Regions from separate parts of the Homo sapiens genome. Here regions 1, 2, 3 and 4 are each linked to region 5. Evidence: promoter capture Hi-C in 16 types of primary human blood cells and fetal thymus (Javierre and others, 2016). All regions are on one chromosome and are shown on one strand. The core of a region is centred on a gene start or on the middle of the fragment in contact, and the rest is flanking DNA. Distances in the headings are between cores, read along the strand shown. Region 1 overlaps LINC00636 (long intergenic non-protein coding RNA 636). Region 2 has its middle 100 kb from the start of CD47. Region 3 overlaps LINC00636 (long intergenic non-protein coding RNA 636). Region 4 has its middle 78 kb from the start of LINC00636. Region 5 holds the start of HHLA2 (HHLA2 member of B7 family).

Region 1 (2,700 bases), core at 75-2,574, 380 kb before region 5:
GCAGTTTCATAAAGTTATATATACACTGTCATATGACCCAGTCACTCTAATCTTAGGTATTTACCCAATAGAAATTAAAGCACAAATCCACATAAATAAAGACTTGTACATAGATGTTTATAGCCCCCCCTCAGAAAAACAACCCAAATATCCATCAATCAGTGAATGGATAAACAAACTGTCACATATCCATATAATGGGACCCAACTTGACAATGAAATGTAACAAACTACAGCAACATCATGATAAAATCTCAGCAACATCATGCTTAGCCACATGCAAGAATGTACATGCTGTGTTATGCTACTTACATGCAATGCTAGCAAGTGTGCACTATATTTCAAGGGACAGAAAGAAGATCAGTGGTGCATAGGATAGGAGAGCCAGTATTGACTTGACAAGGGTAAGAGGGGACTTTGTGGACGGATAAAAATGTTCCATATCTTGATTGTGGTGCTTACATAAGCGTATGCATTTGTTAATGCTCATCAAACTGTACATTTATAATGGTGCATTTCATCTTATGTAATACAATTTAATATAGTTGATTTGTTTAAAAAAATAGAGGGAGTATTTGAAGGGATTCTGAGGGTGGCTCTCTGGGATCCCTCAGGGATGACAAATTGTCCTTCTCTGCTCCATGGTCCTTCCACCATCCCATGCCATCCCACTCCTCCCACCACCACCCCAGAAAGTAAGGGAGCTGTTTGACATGCATCTCTTTGACAGTGAAGGTTCCTGCTCCATGCAATTTCAGAAGGTAGAAGGCTTGATGGCATAATGTATGCCAGTGGGGCTTGAAGAGATCCTTTAGTGTGCCTGGAAGAGGAAGGAGGAAGGAGGAAGTGGACATGCCTTCCCCTGTTCTCTGTGACTTTCAGGCACAGAAGAGGACCCCGATGTCTGCTGGAAGCACAGAGCTTTGTAGAGAGATCACAGGTGTACAGCAACCTGAGTGGGGGCCGAAGGGACACGCAGCTGCCCCTCTAGGGCAAAAGCATCCCATGAGGGAGCTGGCATGAAGCTGAACATGGCCTCAGGAAACCATGCATACAGCTACAGCAAGATAGCAGATGCCACGGAACAAAGTGCCACCAGATCAGGACACAGGCACCTCCTACTACTGAGGCTGCTGCTCCCAGCCACAAGAAGAGGAGTTCTTTCTCCTCCCCGCTGGGGTTGGAGTCGGTGAAGCTGGGATAGACAGTATTAGTTCAGGGAGAAAAAGCTTGTACCTATGAGTAAGGACAGCTAATGATATTGAATTTTGACAGAATTGTCAACAGAGAAAGCCTAAGACTTTAACAAGAATAGATTACAAAAATCAGTGGACTAGACTAAGATTTAAACAAAAATAGGACAAAAAATAAGACATATGCTCTGGGTAGATTTTAAGGTTCAAAGAAGTTTTGAGAATATAGCAAGCTTCATTAAAAAAAAATTTGCATGGATCTACTTCAGTCCAACTGTTACACTTACATTCAAATAGGATTGTTATGATACACTCTTTTGCAACCTGCTATTTTCACTGGGTTATATATCGTGAACATTTGTCCATGTCAATATATAGTCTTCTACAACATGGTTTTTAATGTCTGTGCAGCATCTACCACATGAATGTATGTGTTTTATTTAAATGGTAGCTTATTGTTAAACACTAAGGCTGTTCCAATTTTTCAGTATTATAAATAAGTTTGATGTAGAATCTTACACATGTATCTTTTCACACATCTCTGATTGTGCCCATTAGATAAATTCACAGTTAAGGAATTGCTGGTGCATGGGGTATTTGTATTTTAAGGCTCTTAACACCCTGTAGAAGGTTTGTGTTGATTTACAATTCCACTAGAAATAATTTTAAAGGCTAATTTTCTATTTATCTGTATCTCATTCTGACTCAACAATAAATTGAACTGGCTGAAGGATGCTCATATATCCATCTTTCTTTCATTATTATGTTATACTTAGGGTGAGTGTAGAACTTAAAATTAGCAACACTAGCAGTGTTTTTTATCCTCAGTTTAGCCACAAAAATGGCCGTGTTGGTGTAATGAGAGTAATAATAATGGAGTTAACCTTTAAGGAGAACTTACTGTATGGCAAGTAGCATTCACAGTACTTTACAGGTATTAACAGTCCTATGATGTAAGTACTATTATCCTAGTCATTTTAAAGAAGAGGAAACTGAGTAACCAAAAGGGTAAGTGCCTTGATCAATGTAGCTTTTCAATATTAATATGAATCATTCTTATCTGGATTGTTTCAGTATTTCTGTACATGGTGATTCTTTAATTTGCATCAGGTCTTAAAGAATTAAGGTCTTTCTGTTATACAGACTAAACACCGACTCACCACGGACAAAGACACTTCTGCTCTGAATATGAAATCCTGTGGTTGGATGGTCTTGGGGCCCCCTGTGGCAAAATTCTATAGACCCTGTCCCACACTCTGTCGTGAAAATGGGACTATATTACAGTTCTAATTCCCAAGTACAGCACTGTCACATACTGCCCCAGTCAGTTGTAGAGTTTTCCACAAGTAATTTGTTATAAGTAATTAAGTTCTGAAGTTTGCAAATGGAGCATTTTTCATGTAAATTGGAGTGGATGTGAGATTATCCTTGCCTAAGGTCACCTCACTCCCACACATTTCCATGTGCTCTCAGAGTAGGAGAGAAGTGGGTGAAGCCTTTGCAAGGTT
Region 2 (2,700 bases), core at 61-2,560, 310 kb before region 5:
TCAGTTTGATTATAGCTTGATTGGGAGAAAACACCCTCCCTGTCTACTTTGCCTACATGAAAGGCATGAAAGAGGTGGGGCAGAGGAGAGGCCTTCTATCATTCTCTAAGACCTAGAAATCTACTTTCACCGGAAGGCACAGACTTCACAGAAGAATTGAGCAAGAGCCAGCGTGGAAATATTGGACAGCTTCCCGGCAACTCTTGAGTCAGGTCATTATTGTGCAGTTTCATCACTTTGTTTGAAGGGAATTCCCAGGACTTCAGGCGTATTCAGGTTCATATGTTATGCAGAAATGCATTCCAAAATCAAAAATACGGTTACTGTGATTTGGGACTTTCTACCCCTATACTTCCTGCTATTCACTAATATAATTATGCATGTTTTATAATTAGAGTATGTTAGGATACACATTTGCATCTTGTATGTGGTTGGGAATACATTCTCAAATCTATTTGTGGGCCCAATAAGCCATGTGACCATGGCAAGTTTCCTCATGGCTCTGTATGTCAATGTACTCATCTGTGAGCTAGAGGCAGGGGTACCAGATGGTCTTTCAACTCCCTTTGACTCTACACATACATTTCCATCTACAAACTAAGTCTGAATTCCTTTAGAAAAGGTGTCAAGAGATTTGTGCCTGGCCAAGACCTTGGAGGATGATGGTGTTGCACTTCGTCTAGTTATTCAGGTAAAAGTAATGACTACTTATATATCTTTTTAGGGTCCCTCTGCTAGGGTTAAGCTTCATGAAGCAGACATGACATCTTTCTTGCTCAGCACTGTCTCCCCAGTGCCTAACACAGTGCCTGGCACATGCAAAGCCCTTGGTAATTATATGTTGAATGAATGAAGGTCACCAGGAGCCTGGATTCTTATCTGCTCAACCTAGGTGGTGAAGAAGCCTGGTGAGACTAGGATTGGGAAAGTTCCCCCAGCTGCTCTGACCTTAAAGGCAGAAGAAGACTCCAGACAATGGTGACCACCTTCTGGGGCCTCTTCTAGCAGCTGAGGCTGCAGGATCTGCAATGCCCAATCCCTAAACCTTCCTAGCCATGTCCTCACACTCCAGGACTGACAATATTAACACATCCCCTGCAGCTCTATGCTTGCCTGGGCTCTACCTGCAGAGATGCTGGGTGGGACAACGTATGTCAATGCTTAGGGGATTCCTACATGATTTTGATGCTGCCTCTCACCTCTGCACTTTGAACCAGGCCTGCCAGACCAACTCCAGTTCCACTCACAGTGCTCCACATGCATCGCTGCAGCCCTGGGCACTCTCCTGCCAATCCCGATGCAACTCTGGCAAGTCCAAATCACTGTAAGGATCACTGCAAGGATGCTCAAGACAAGGGAACAAGTGGGGCCTGGAACCGTGCCCAAATTCCCCTCACTAGCAGTGAGCCCTGCCTGGCATAAAGTTTTGCTCAGCAAAAGGAAAGGCAAACACGGAAGGGTGGGGTTAGAAAAAGCCATAATCCAGATGAGTCACTTTTAATACTTTGCATAAAGGCAGCCCTGCCAGAAGCATCTTTTTTTGGTTTTTCTTTTTTAAAAAATTCTAAATAGTTAAGTGTCCAATATATGCTGGTCAGTCAATACATTTTATATAAAAGTGCAGGATTTGAGCATTTATGTAAAGTGCAGAGCTTACTCTGTTTACCACTGCCATGTGTAAGCAGGGCTGGCCCATTCCCCCTTAGTTACACTTAAAATTTCCTCTTCCAGGCTCAACTCAGAGAAGGAGAAGCTGCAAGAAAGCTCTGCTTTCCCCTGCATCTTGGGGCAGCCCTGTTTGCCTCACAGACAGAGAAGAACCGAGCCCTATATGATATTTTCACCTAATACGAAGCTGAACTTTGGTAACAGTATTAAGCTTTACAATGTTCCTTATGGTCTCCACATTTTGTTTCACTCTTTTGAAATCTGTGATCTCCACTAGAGATCTCTAAATATAATATTCAGAATTTGGAATATCAGCAATTGGAGGTCACACTAGCATTGTGATTGAATTGGGGCTGGGTGGCAGAGAGAGAGTTCAGTTGTACTTGGGCAGGCTCTTTGCTTGTCTATAGGGCTTTAAAGTTTCCCAGGACTAAACCATTTGATTAGCATATGATTTTTCCGTAAACATTGTCCACAGATTATGATCAAAAGTAGTGTGCACTTAAACAAAGACCTGTTAGAATGAACACATTTTCTTTCTTTCCTTTGCTGAGTCTTTCCTTAGGCTCACAATCCTAAGTCTTGGGGGATGTTTGACGATGTCAACATCCATTTTCAAATGTCCAGCAACTTCTACATGTCATCCAGATGGGATGAAAATTAACAAAATGCATCTGTTTTGCAAACTGCTGAATGGAAGATTTGTAATTATAAGATATCTGAAGTTTATGGTTTTGTTTTTTTTTTTAATTTACTAAAAGTCTACAGGGAAAGGAAAACATTGAATTTTAAGTGTGTGTGCATGTTGTCTGTGTATGTGTATGTAAATTGTGCAAAGGATAGGGGAGGGCGAAAGAACCAGTGATGGCAGAAAGTGCTTCCCTTTTAATAATAAGAAACAAATGGAGATGATTTGGTCTGGGAAGCCTCACTGTACTTCTGCAAAGTCATTTGTATATTGGCTAAGTGATTTGCACACTGCTGGGGCTACCGGCTCCCTGAACTGCATTCCCCCAGGCCTCTCTTTTTGCT
Region 3 (2,700 bases), core at 96-2,595, 400 kb before region 5:
TCTAGAGAGCCTTCCTAATAGACTCACTGGAAAAAAAACAGAAAGAAATCTTGGAAGGAAAGAGCTGAACTGAAAAAGAAAAACCTTTCTGCTCTCTAAATTTAGAATAAATCCATCACCATTTTTGTTTTACCTCAATTAACTTTATCCCGCTGAATTCATCTAGTCTCCAAAGAAATCTTACAGCCTGGAGAGTTCCTCCATTCGTCTGGACTTTTAAAAGTTCTTGTGAAATGTATAGTCCATGTGATCAGGAAATCTGAGTATACTGGTAGTTCATTATTATGATGGCGCTTGTGGGTGTCAGGAACGATAATGTCTGTATTTAATGGTATTTGTGGCTTGCCCCTGGCTTGCAATTACCTGCCAAGTGTAGTGGCTAGATTGAAAACATGATTGCAGCAGCCCATTTTCTCTTAGAAATCCTACTGGCTCCTTGATGATAATTTGACCTAAAGCATTGTGAGTGTGAGAGTGTGAGTGTGTGTGTGTGTATGTGTGGTGCTGTCACTTCCTCATTCCTCCTGTGCAATAAAAGGAAAGTTCCCAGGGAATTGAACAATTCAAATAATAAATTTTTTCAATATTGGCCTTGCTCAGCCAGCTGAATATTCTTGATAAAACAGCAGTTGCCTGTCCTGAACCCACACCTTAGGCAAGAGACACCTGGTATGTGGAGAACGTGCTGAGTTCACATGTGGCCATGACAGCACAAGGCTGTAACCGAAGTGTCTGGTCTCAGGAGAGGTTTATTGTCCACAGGTCTTAGGGTCTGCCAGGAGCTGCTGATGATTCAGCCATTTTGTATTCATTTGTCTATTATGAGTGGGACAGCAGCTGTTACTGTTTTATACTCTTAAAATAAAAAAAAAAACGCTGCACAGTTTAGACAACTATACAAGATGACCCCCACTGCTAAAAGTTGAAATACTGATGTTGCATTTACACAGAGTTGGCTGTGAAAAAACAGAATGCAAGGCAGGACTTCGGATTCCCACTGCTGTGCAAAAGGAGAGATAAAAATAATAGCAGCAAAAACTCATGCAAACACATCAACCTCAAGGCTAAGAAACTTAATGCTCCTGAGTGGAGCAGTAGAAAGCTTATGACCATTATTCTCTATTTGATGTATTGCTTGGACAGTTTTAATTATTTTATTCCCATTTAAAATAAAGGTTAATTAAAATGTCTACCAGCTATTAATAGTTCACATGTTAAAAAGAACTTTTTTCTATGTTTTATACGTTTTTCTTGTAAAATCAATGTACAATCACTATAGACAATTAGGGGCAAGAATAAGCAAAATAAAAGAACATGAATATCTAACAATTATATTCCTCTTACAGCATGCCTGGCAAAATTGTAAATGATTTTTACATATAAGCTCATTTAATTGTCAAAGCAACCTTATGAGGTAGGTTTTTACCTATCCCTATTTTACAGAAAAGGAAACTGAGGCACAGAGAGGTTAAACAACTTGCCCAGAGTCCAAAAAACAGCCTGGCTCCAAAGTCAGCGCTGCTCACCACACTGTTGTACTTCTCTCTACGACCATCCACAGTGCCCCTCCCTCAGGGATAACTTACAGTTAAGCTTAGCATATAGTTTTCCAGATCTTTTCTTATTAATATAAACAAGTAAATATATGGTACACTTGCATATCATGCATCAATATATTGTCTATGTATGTTATATTAATTTCCTAGTCTGACTCTCAAAATAGTCTTTTTAATTTTTCTGACCTTATGAATGAGGAAACAAGCTTAGAGGGGCCGAGTGACTTGCCCCAAATCTCATAGTTGTGGTGGAAGAGAAACCTTTTCCCAGGTCAGCTACCTCCATCAAAGGGATTCTTTTCTCTGCACTAAGCTGCCTCATGGTCTTTTAATTTTGACTGTGATGAAAGCACACAATTTCATCGTGGTGGGATGCATCACCAGGTTGAAGATGATTAGGTGATGTAGTGGGGGCTCTCAGTGCCCTGCCAGCTCTGCCTTACCAGCTGGTGCACCTGTCTCCCAGCGGCTGCAATGCTGGCTAGTAACCATGCCTAGCTGTCCTCCTCTATAGAGAATCGCCTTTGGTCACTTCACCCCTTGCAGGGTCTCGTCTAGAAAACCGGACTTGGGACAAGTGGTGTTTGATAACATGACCCCCCTCTGGGGAACAAAAACCAGCACCCACCTTGAGGCAAGGGCTGCCTTTTGGAGTCCTACAACAGTTTTCATAATTTTTAGCCATACAGTTTGCCTTGAGTCAGTAGGGCTTTTTTCTTTCAAAAAGTCCAGTGACTATTTTTTCAAAATGATTTATTTAAATATTTTGTTAAGGTGACTTACATGGACCAAAGAAAGCCCTAAAAACCATTTCAAACACGTTTAATTCAGGGTCATTTCTCATGTTTCCATATTTCTAAGCTTTAATGCTTTTCTATTTCAAATCAATTACTTTCTATTTATTCTTTAAGCACACATATTTCAGAGTTATAACAGAAGAATAGCTATGAATAACTACCCTGCCTCCTTCTTTAATTTCACAGTACTCCCATCTGCCTTCCATCTCCCTTGCTGAAAATTTTCTCTGCTCCATCACCACAATTTCACTGTTAGCTTTCTCCTACCAACTTCTGGTACATCTCACTATTAAAGTTTTCTCTGTTATAGCCATCCTGTGTGCCCTCTTCTAAATGAACACTTCACT
Region 4 (2,700 bases), core at 100-2,599, 330 kb before region 5:
GGAGTTTTATTAAAAAGCATTGTCATCCTCCATATTGCTATTGAGAAAACTAAAGCAAAGAGAGATTATAGGTCATAACCACACAAGCAGAAAATGGTAGAGCCAAGACACATGCCAAGATTTTTCTAGAATTGGTGCTGATTCCAGTGTATCATACTATAGCAGTTTCCAAAAATGGCCCCCAAATCCTTTGAACCTCCATTCATCAGAAGGTGGTGCCTATGTCCCCCTCCCAGGGGTCTGAATGGGGTCTGTGACATCTCCAACCAATGGAGAATGGTAGAGGTAATGCTGCATGATTTTTGAGGCTAGGTTAGAAAAGACCAAGCAACTTCAACCCTGCCTTCTGGGAATGTTTGTTTTTGAAACCCAGCTACTATGTCATGAGGAAGCCCAACCTAGTCCATGTGGAGAGACTATCTGGAGAGATCCTGAGACTACAGTGGGGAGGGAGAGAGAAAGGAAGGGGGAAAGCGGGAGGGGACTCTGGCCAGTTCTCAGCGGCTCCAGTCTTCCTTTCCTCTCTCTGGCTGTCTTCTTTCGTCTCCCACTATTTTAAGTCCAACAAGTGTTTGACTGCAAGTACACAAGAGACTCAAACCAGATTCACTTGAATGACACCTTCCTGAATTCCTGGATTCCCACAGAAACTACCAATAAAATGATTATTGTTTTAAGCTATGTTTTGAACATAGCAATGAACACTTGGTCTGAGCACTGTTACCAAGTATGTAATATGCTACATCCAGAACCTAAAAAGGCCCACCAGGCATTATGCTTCCTCCTTAGTGGTGGGAGGGGTAATATACAATACTTTGTTCTTTGCCTTGAGAGGGTTGTCATGGCATGCCCAAACCACTAGACCCCATCAAGAAATTTCCTTGATATTTCAGGGCCCTCAATCTTCATTAGATGTATTTTCCACATTCTGCAATTCATATGTCTCACCAAGTCCTCCAAAATGCTTGTGACTTCCTGCTTAAAGTGGAGAAATGTATGGTTCTCAGGAGCTACTGGTCTGGTCACTATACTAGGAGAGAGGGAAAGAGTTAACATAGTCCTGGGGCAAGATCATAAGTATATATTGCTGTTCATTTCAGTGCAGATCAATGGCTGCATGCCATGTGTGGTGTATAGGAGAAAACCAAACCAAAGGGCTTTTTCTATTCTCCCACTCAACAATCAACAACAGATCCCACAGGATGAGGGCTCAGTCCCACAAGACTGCCCCACACTTCAGATGGTAATCACAAGCTCAAGGTTGTCTGACCTCTGCTTCTGACCTACTGTCTGTAAATCAGGGCTCCTGTGACCACCTCCTTGAGTTCAACTAATTTGTTAGGGTAGCTCACAAAACTCAGGGAAATACTTACTTATGCTATCTGGTTTACTATAAAGGATATTACAAAGAAACAGGCGGATGGAAGATATACACAGGGCAAGGAATGGGAGAGGAGGAGCTTCCATGCCATCTCTGGGCACACCATCCTCCAGGGATCTCCATGTGTTCTGCTATCTGTATGCCCACTCAAACCCTGTCCTTTTGGGTTTTTATAGAGGCTTCATTACACAGGCATAATTGATTATATCATTGACCATTAGTGATGAACTCAACTTTCAGCCACTCTCCTTTCCCTGGAGGTCAGGGGCTGGGGCTGAAACTTCCAACCTTCTAATCCCATAGTTGGTTCCCTGATAACTGGCTCTTATCTTGAGGCTATGCAAAAGCCCACCAAGAGTCACCTTATTAGAGCAAAAGAAGCTCCTGTCGCCCAGAAAATGCCAAAGGACTTAGGAGCGCTGGGTCAGGATCCAGAGTCAAAGACCAAATATTAAAATACAAGATGCTTGTAGCACCCCTATTCATCAGGAAATTATGAAGGCTTGAGGAGCTCTGTGCCAAGGACTGCTGGCAGAAACCAATATGTGTATTTCTTATCAGTTTCACAGCATGTATTAGACACCGTGTTAACTTGCTCTAGCAAAGACACCACAATTTGTACAGCAGCTACAATTGGGGCTGCTACTTGGTAGAATTGTCGGTTGCCCAAAAATTCATACCAAGAAGCCACATGGCTTTTATAGATGTAAGACTGGTCAATTAAATAGGGATAGGGTGTGGCTTCTAACCCTGCATCCTTTTGATCTTCAAGATGGACTCTAATCTCTGTCATTTCCTCCAGGATGCAATATTGTTTTTGATTTAATGTGTTGTCCAGAGTTGATGGAGTAGTATCAGAGGCTTCTTTGGGCTTTCCCATTATAATTCTTACCTTATAGGCCAGAAAACCAATAGAGGGGTTCTGTCAATTGCTTCTTCTAATTAGGTATTCAGAAACTAGGGAAATGACCACTGGTTGGGCCCATACACGTAGTTGATCTACTATGAGCCAATTTTTATCCAGAGTCCTCATTTGCACCCTTTAAAATAGGTGTGTTTGTGTGTGTGTATGTGTGTGTGTGTGTGTATGAGTGTGTACCTGATGATGCTTTGGGCCCCCAGGTGTTAATGTTAACACTCAGTTCTTGAAAGGCTTAAGTGTTCCCCTTTCCCCAGTACATTGTTACCTAAGTAGATGATTGTAGATCCTTTTGGAGAAGGACAGGAAGAATCATTAAAAATTAAAACTTGCCATGATTTTGCAGTCTCTTTCTGATGAGACACAGCCTTTCCTTCAGTCATGTGGGCTCAGGGTTGAG
Region 5 (2,700 bases), core at 180-2,679:
TATAGCCTTTGGACATTACTGACCACATCAACTTTAACCTCCTGCCACACATGCACACTCAGGGGAGAGGGCAAGGTACATTTGGGGAACTCCCCCTCCTCTTCCCCATCTCTTCCTTGACTTCCTTCTTCTCTAGTCAGAGTCATCCATAGTGAGCCTTCTGCTGCCCACTGGAAACTGGGTTGAAAGTCCCAGCTACTCGGGAGGCTGAGGCAGGAGAATGGCGTGAACCTGGGAGACAGAGCTTGCAGTTAGCCGAGATCGTGCCACTGCACTCCAGCCTGGGCGACAGAAAGAGACTCTGTCTCAAAAAAAAAAAAAAAAAAAAAAACGAAAAACAAAAACAAACAAAAAAGAAAACGTTGGCGTGGGTGACTTTGGGGATTCTAGGAAGAGCCCTGGCGCTTTCAACCCAGTTTCCAGTGGGCAGCAGAAGGCTCACTATGGATGACTCTGACTAGAGAAGAAGGAAGTCAAGGAAGAGATGGGGAAGAGGAGGGGGAGTTCCCCAAATGTACTTTGCCCTCTCCCCTGAGTGTGCATGTGTGGCAGGAGGTTAACGTTGATGTGGTGAGTAATGCCGAAAGGCTATAAAGCTAGACAGGGCCCTATGATTATATGATCAGGGGATTTGTGTGCTGTGCCAAGGCTTGGATGGCATCCTTTGTTCCAGACAGAAGGGTCCTGTTTATTGTCCTCCTAAGGTAATTTTTGTTCACTTTGTAACTTTTGCTCCCATGCACTCAGCAAACAGATATTGACCAGCTACTATGTGCTAGTAAGTAAGTGGTAGTTGTTTGGGATACAATAGTGAGTAAAGCATGACTCTTAGCATCTGTTGTATGTGCATGCATGCCATGCATGTGACACTGAGGGAGAGAGAGATTAAATGATATGACAGCATAGAGGCTGGGCACTGCCCAACTTTCCATGTGGAATTCAGAGAGGTCTTTATTTCTCTGAAGTTGAGTTTAAGCTTGGGTGTTCTAGCGACCAGAACTGTAATGGGAATTGTAGGTGCAGATGAACTTTGTGTAGGGTTATGGTTCTTTCTCACAGAACTATTGGCACCCACTGCAACCAGCTACACAATTTTCTTTACAACTCTGCAGCAAGCTAGACAGGTCACAGGCAGTCCAACCTCAGGAGGTTGCCTGTATCATGTTGATGGTGAAGCTGACACCATAGCATGGAAACCAGAGTCCACTGCTCCCACAGCTCAATGCTTAGCTGTTTCAATATGTTGTCTGAAACTGCATCTTCTAATTCCTGGACTTTTCAGATCTGTACTGACTCAGATCTGGGTGGGGCTTAGTTTGAAGGAGGGAGTCCTTGGTGATGATGTGATTTCCTTGGTCTGTCATAGGTAGCAAATCAAACGTACCTTGGACTTTACTCTCTGAGAAACTCATAGCTGAATTCAATGTTTATTCTTATGGACTACTTAGCATTTGACTAGACGGTATGAATTTCTAAGTAAGGTAAGGATTTCTTTCTAAGTTGTTTATACCTAGAACTTAAAAGTGGGCATGAATAAATCAAATATGGGTGGTTTTTAGTTGACACTTTATTTTCCCGTTAGGAAAAAATTAGTGACTGATCTTTTAAATTGATTTAGTGCATATACTATGTATTGTGCATATGCACCAAACAAATACTTAGTAAAAGGTTGTCTTGAAGGAACATGCTGATATATTTCAAATAAAAGAACTTAGCAAAAATGAGGAAAATACCTAACATTCTGGTAAGACAGTGAAAGAGGGATGAGCAATGTTTGTTTTGAAAATTATCTGCGAACTTTAAAAAAATCTCTAAGAGTGTATTCTTACTTGTAATTGTTCATCTAGTTACACTACAGAGTTTTATTAGCTGCTCCAAGATGCACTGCGTTCCATTCTGTGGTGGAAACAAAAGGACCGTAGTAGTGGTTATCTAGCAGAAGAATCGTGATCTTTGAATTCTAATACAAGAAACTTAGAAGTCTCCTAGATATTTCCACTGTCTCAGGGAAGAATCATTAAGTTTATGTCATTTTTTAATAACTAAAACAAGATTCAAAAAGTTAAGATTCAATTCTCATTGGGTTTCTATTGTTTGGGACTTTGGATAATAGAAAAAAATATGAACAGGTAATTTAGGTTTTTTTGTGTTACTGGTACCTGACAAAACAAACTTGAGCTTCCCATTTCCTAGAAACTTGGAGGAAATAATTTCTGTCCAGAATGGCAAATTGGTGTCATATCCCATTATAAGCATATTTTAATCAAAAGATGCAATAAAGTGTAGTGGTCAAGATCATAGTCTCTAGAGTCAAGTAATCCTTGGTGCATTTACCTGCTTCATCATTAACCAGTTGTATATTTTTCTCAGAGCCAGTTTCCTAATCTGTAAAATGGGGGTAGACTAGTATTGCTGTGAAGATTAAATGAAATTTATTAAAGTGCTTAGCAAAGTGCCTGGTATGTAGAAAGTGTTTAATAAATATTATTATTTCAGAATATAGATGTAAAAGACAAATGATTTCCTATATAATCATATTGAGTAGCCTGAAAGTTTGGTGGCTCTTAAATAAATCCATGAATGAAGGCTCTGCCTACTTTTGGCGTGTGGCCCACCAGCATGTTCTATCAGTTGGCCTGAGCTGGGAAAGAAACCAATTCCTGTGTTGAGTTTTCCTCCAGGTGCTTAAAATAGACCATA

The links. The method cuts DNA at HindIII sites, captures the fragments that hold promoters and counts their contacts. A CHiCAGO score of 5 or more calls a contact.
Region 1: a contact is called between a fragment that was not itself captured here and the fragment with the promoter of HHLA2 in region 5, in 1 of 17 cell types (erythroblasts). The highest score is 5.3, in erythroblasts.
Region 2: a fragment that was not itself captured here is called in contact with the fragment with the promoter of HHLA2 in region 5 in 1 of 17 cell types (neutrophils); the score reaches 5.8 in neutrophils.
Region 3: a contact is called between a fragment that was not itself captured here and the fragment with the promoter of HHLA2 in region 5, in 1 of 17 cell types (total B cells). The highest score is 5.0, in total B cells.
Region 4: a contact is called between a fragment that was not itself captured here and the fragment with the promoter of HHLA2 in region 5, in 1 of 17 cell types (neutrophils). The highest score is 5.6, in neutrophils.

The regions. Positions count from the first base shown.
Region 1 is chr3:107,918,585-107,921,284 of GRCh38, forward strand. The region is part of intron 1 of LINC00636 (long intergenic non-protein coding RNA 636); the gene reads left to right. Among named protein-coding and RNA genes, the nearest start is that of LINC00636, 37 kb to the left of the region's middle. The HindIII fragment of the contact is 197 bases long and covers 1,227-1,423 here.
Region 2 is chr3:107,987,268-107,989,967 of GRCh38, forward strand. No RefSeq gene overlaps it. Among named protein-coding and RNA genes, the nearest start is that of CD47, 100 kb to the right of the region's middle. The HindIII fragment of the contact is 1,134 bases long and covers 744-1,877 here.
Region 3 is chr3:107,897,211-107,899,910 of GRCh38, forward strand. All of the region lies in intron 1 of LINC00636 (long intergenic non-protein coding RNA 636), which reads left to right. Among named protein-coding and RNA genes, the nearest start is that of LINC00636, 15 kb to the left of the region's middle. The HindIII fragment of the contact is 491 bases long and covers 1,101-1,591 here.
Region 4 is chr3:107,960,283-107,962,982 of GRCh38, forward strand. No RefSeq gene overlaps it. Among named protein-coding and RNA genes, the nearest start is that of LINC00636, 78 kb to the left of the region's middle. The HindIII fragment of the contact is 6,015 bases long and covers 1-2,700 here.
Region 5 is chr3:108,295,119-108,297,818 of GRCh38, forward strand. It overlaps HHLA2 (HHLA2 member of B7 family), which reads left to right and starts at 1,430. Exons shown (of 10, transcript NM_001282556.2): 1 at 1,430-1,481. The HindIII fragment of the contact is 2,475 bases long and covers 975-2,700 here.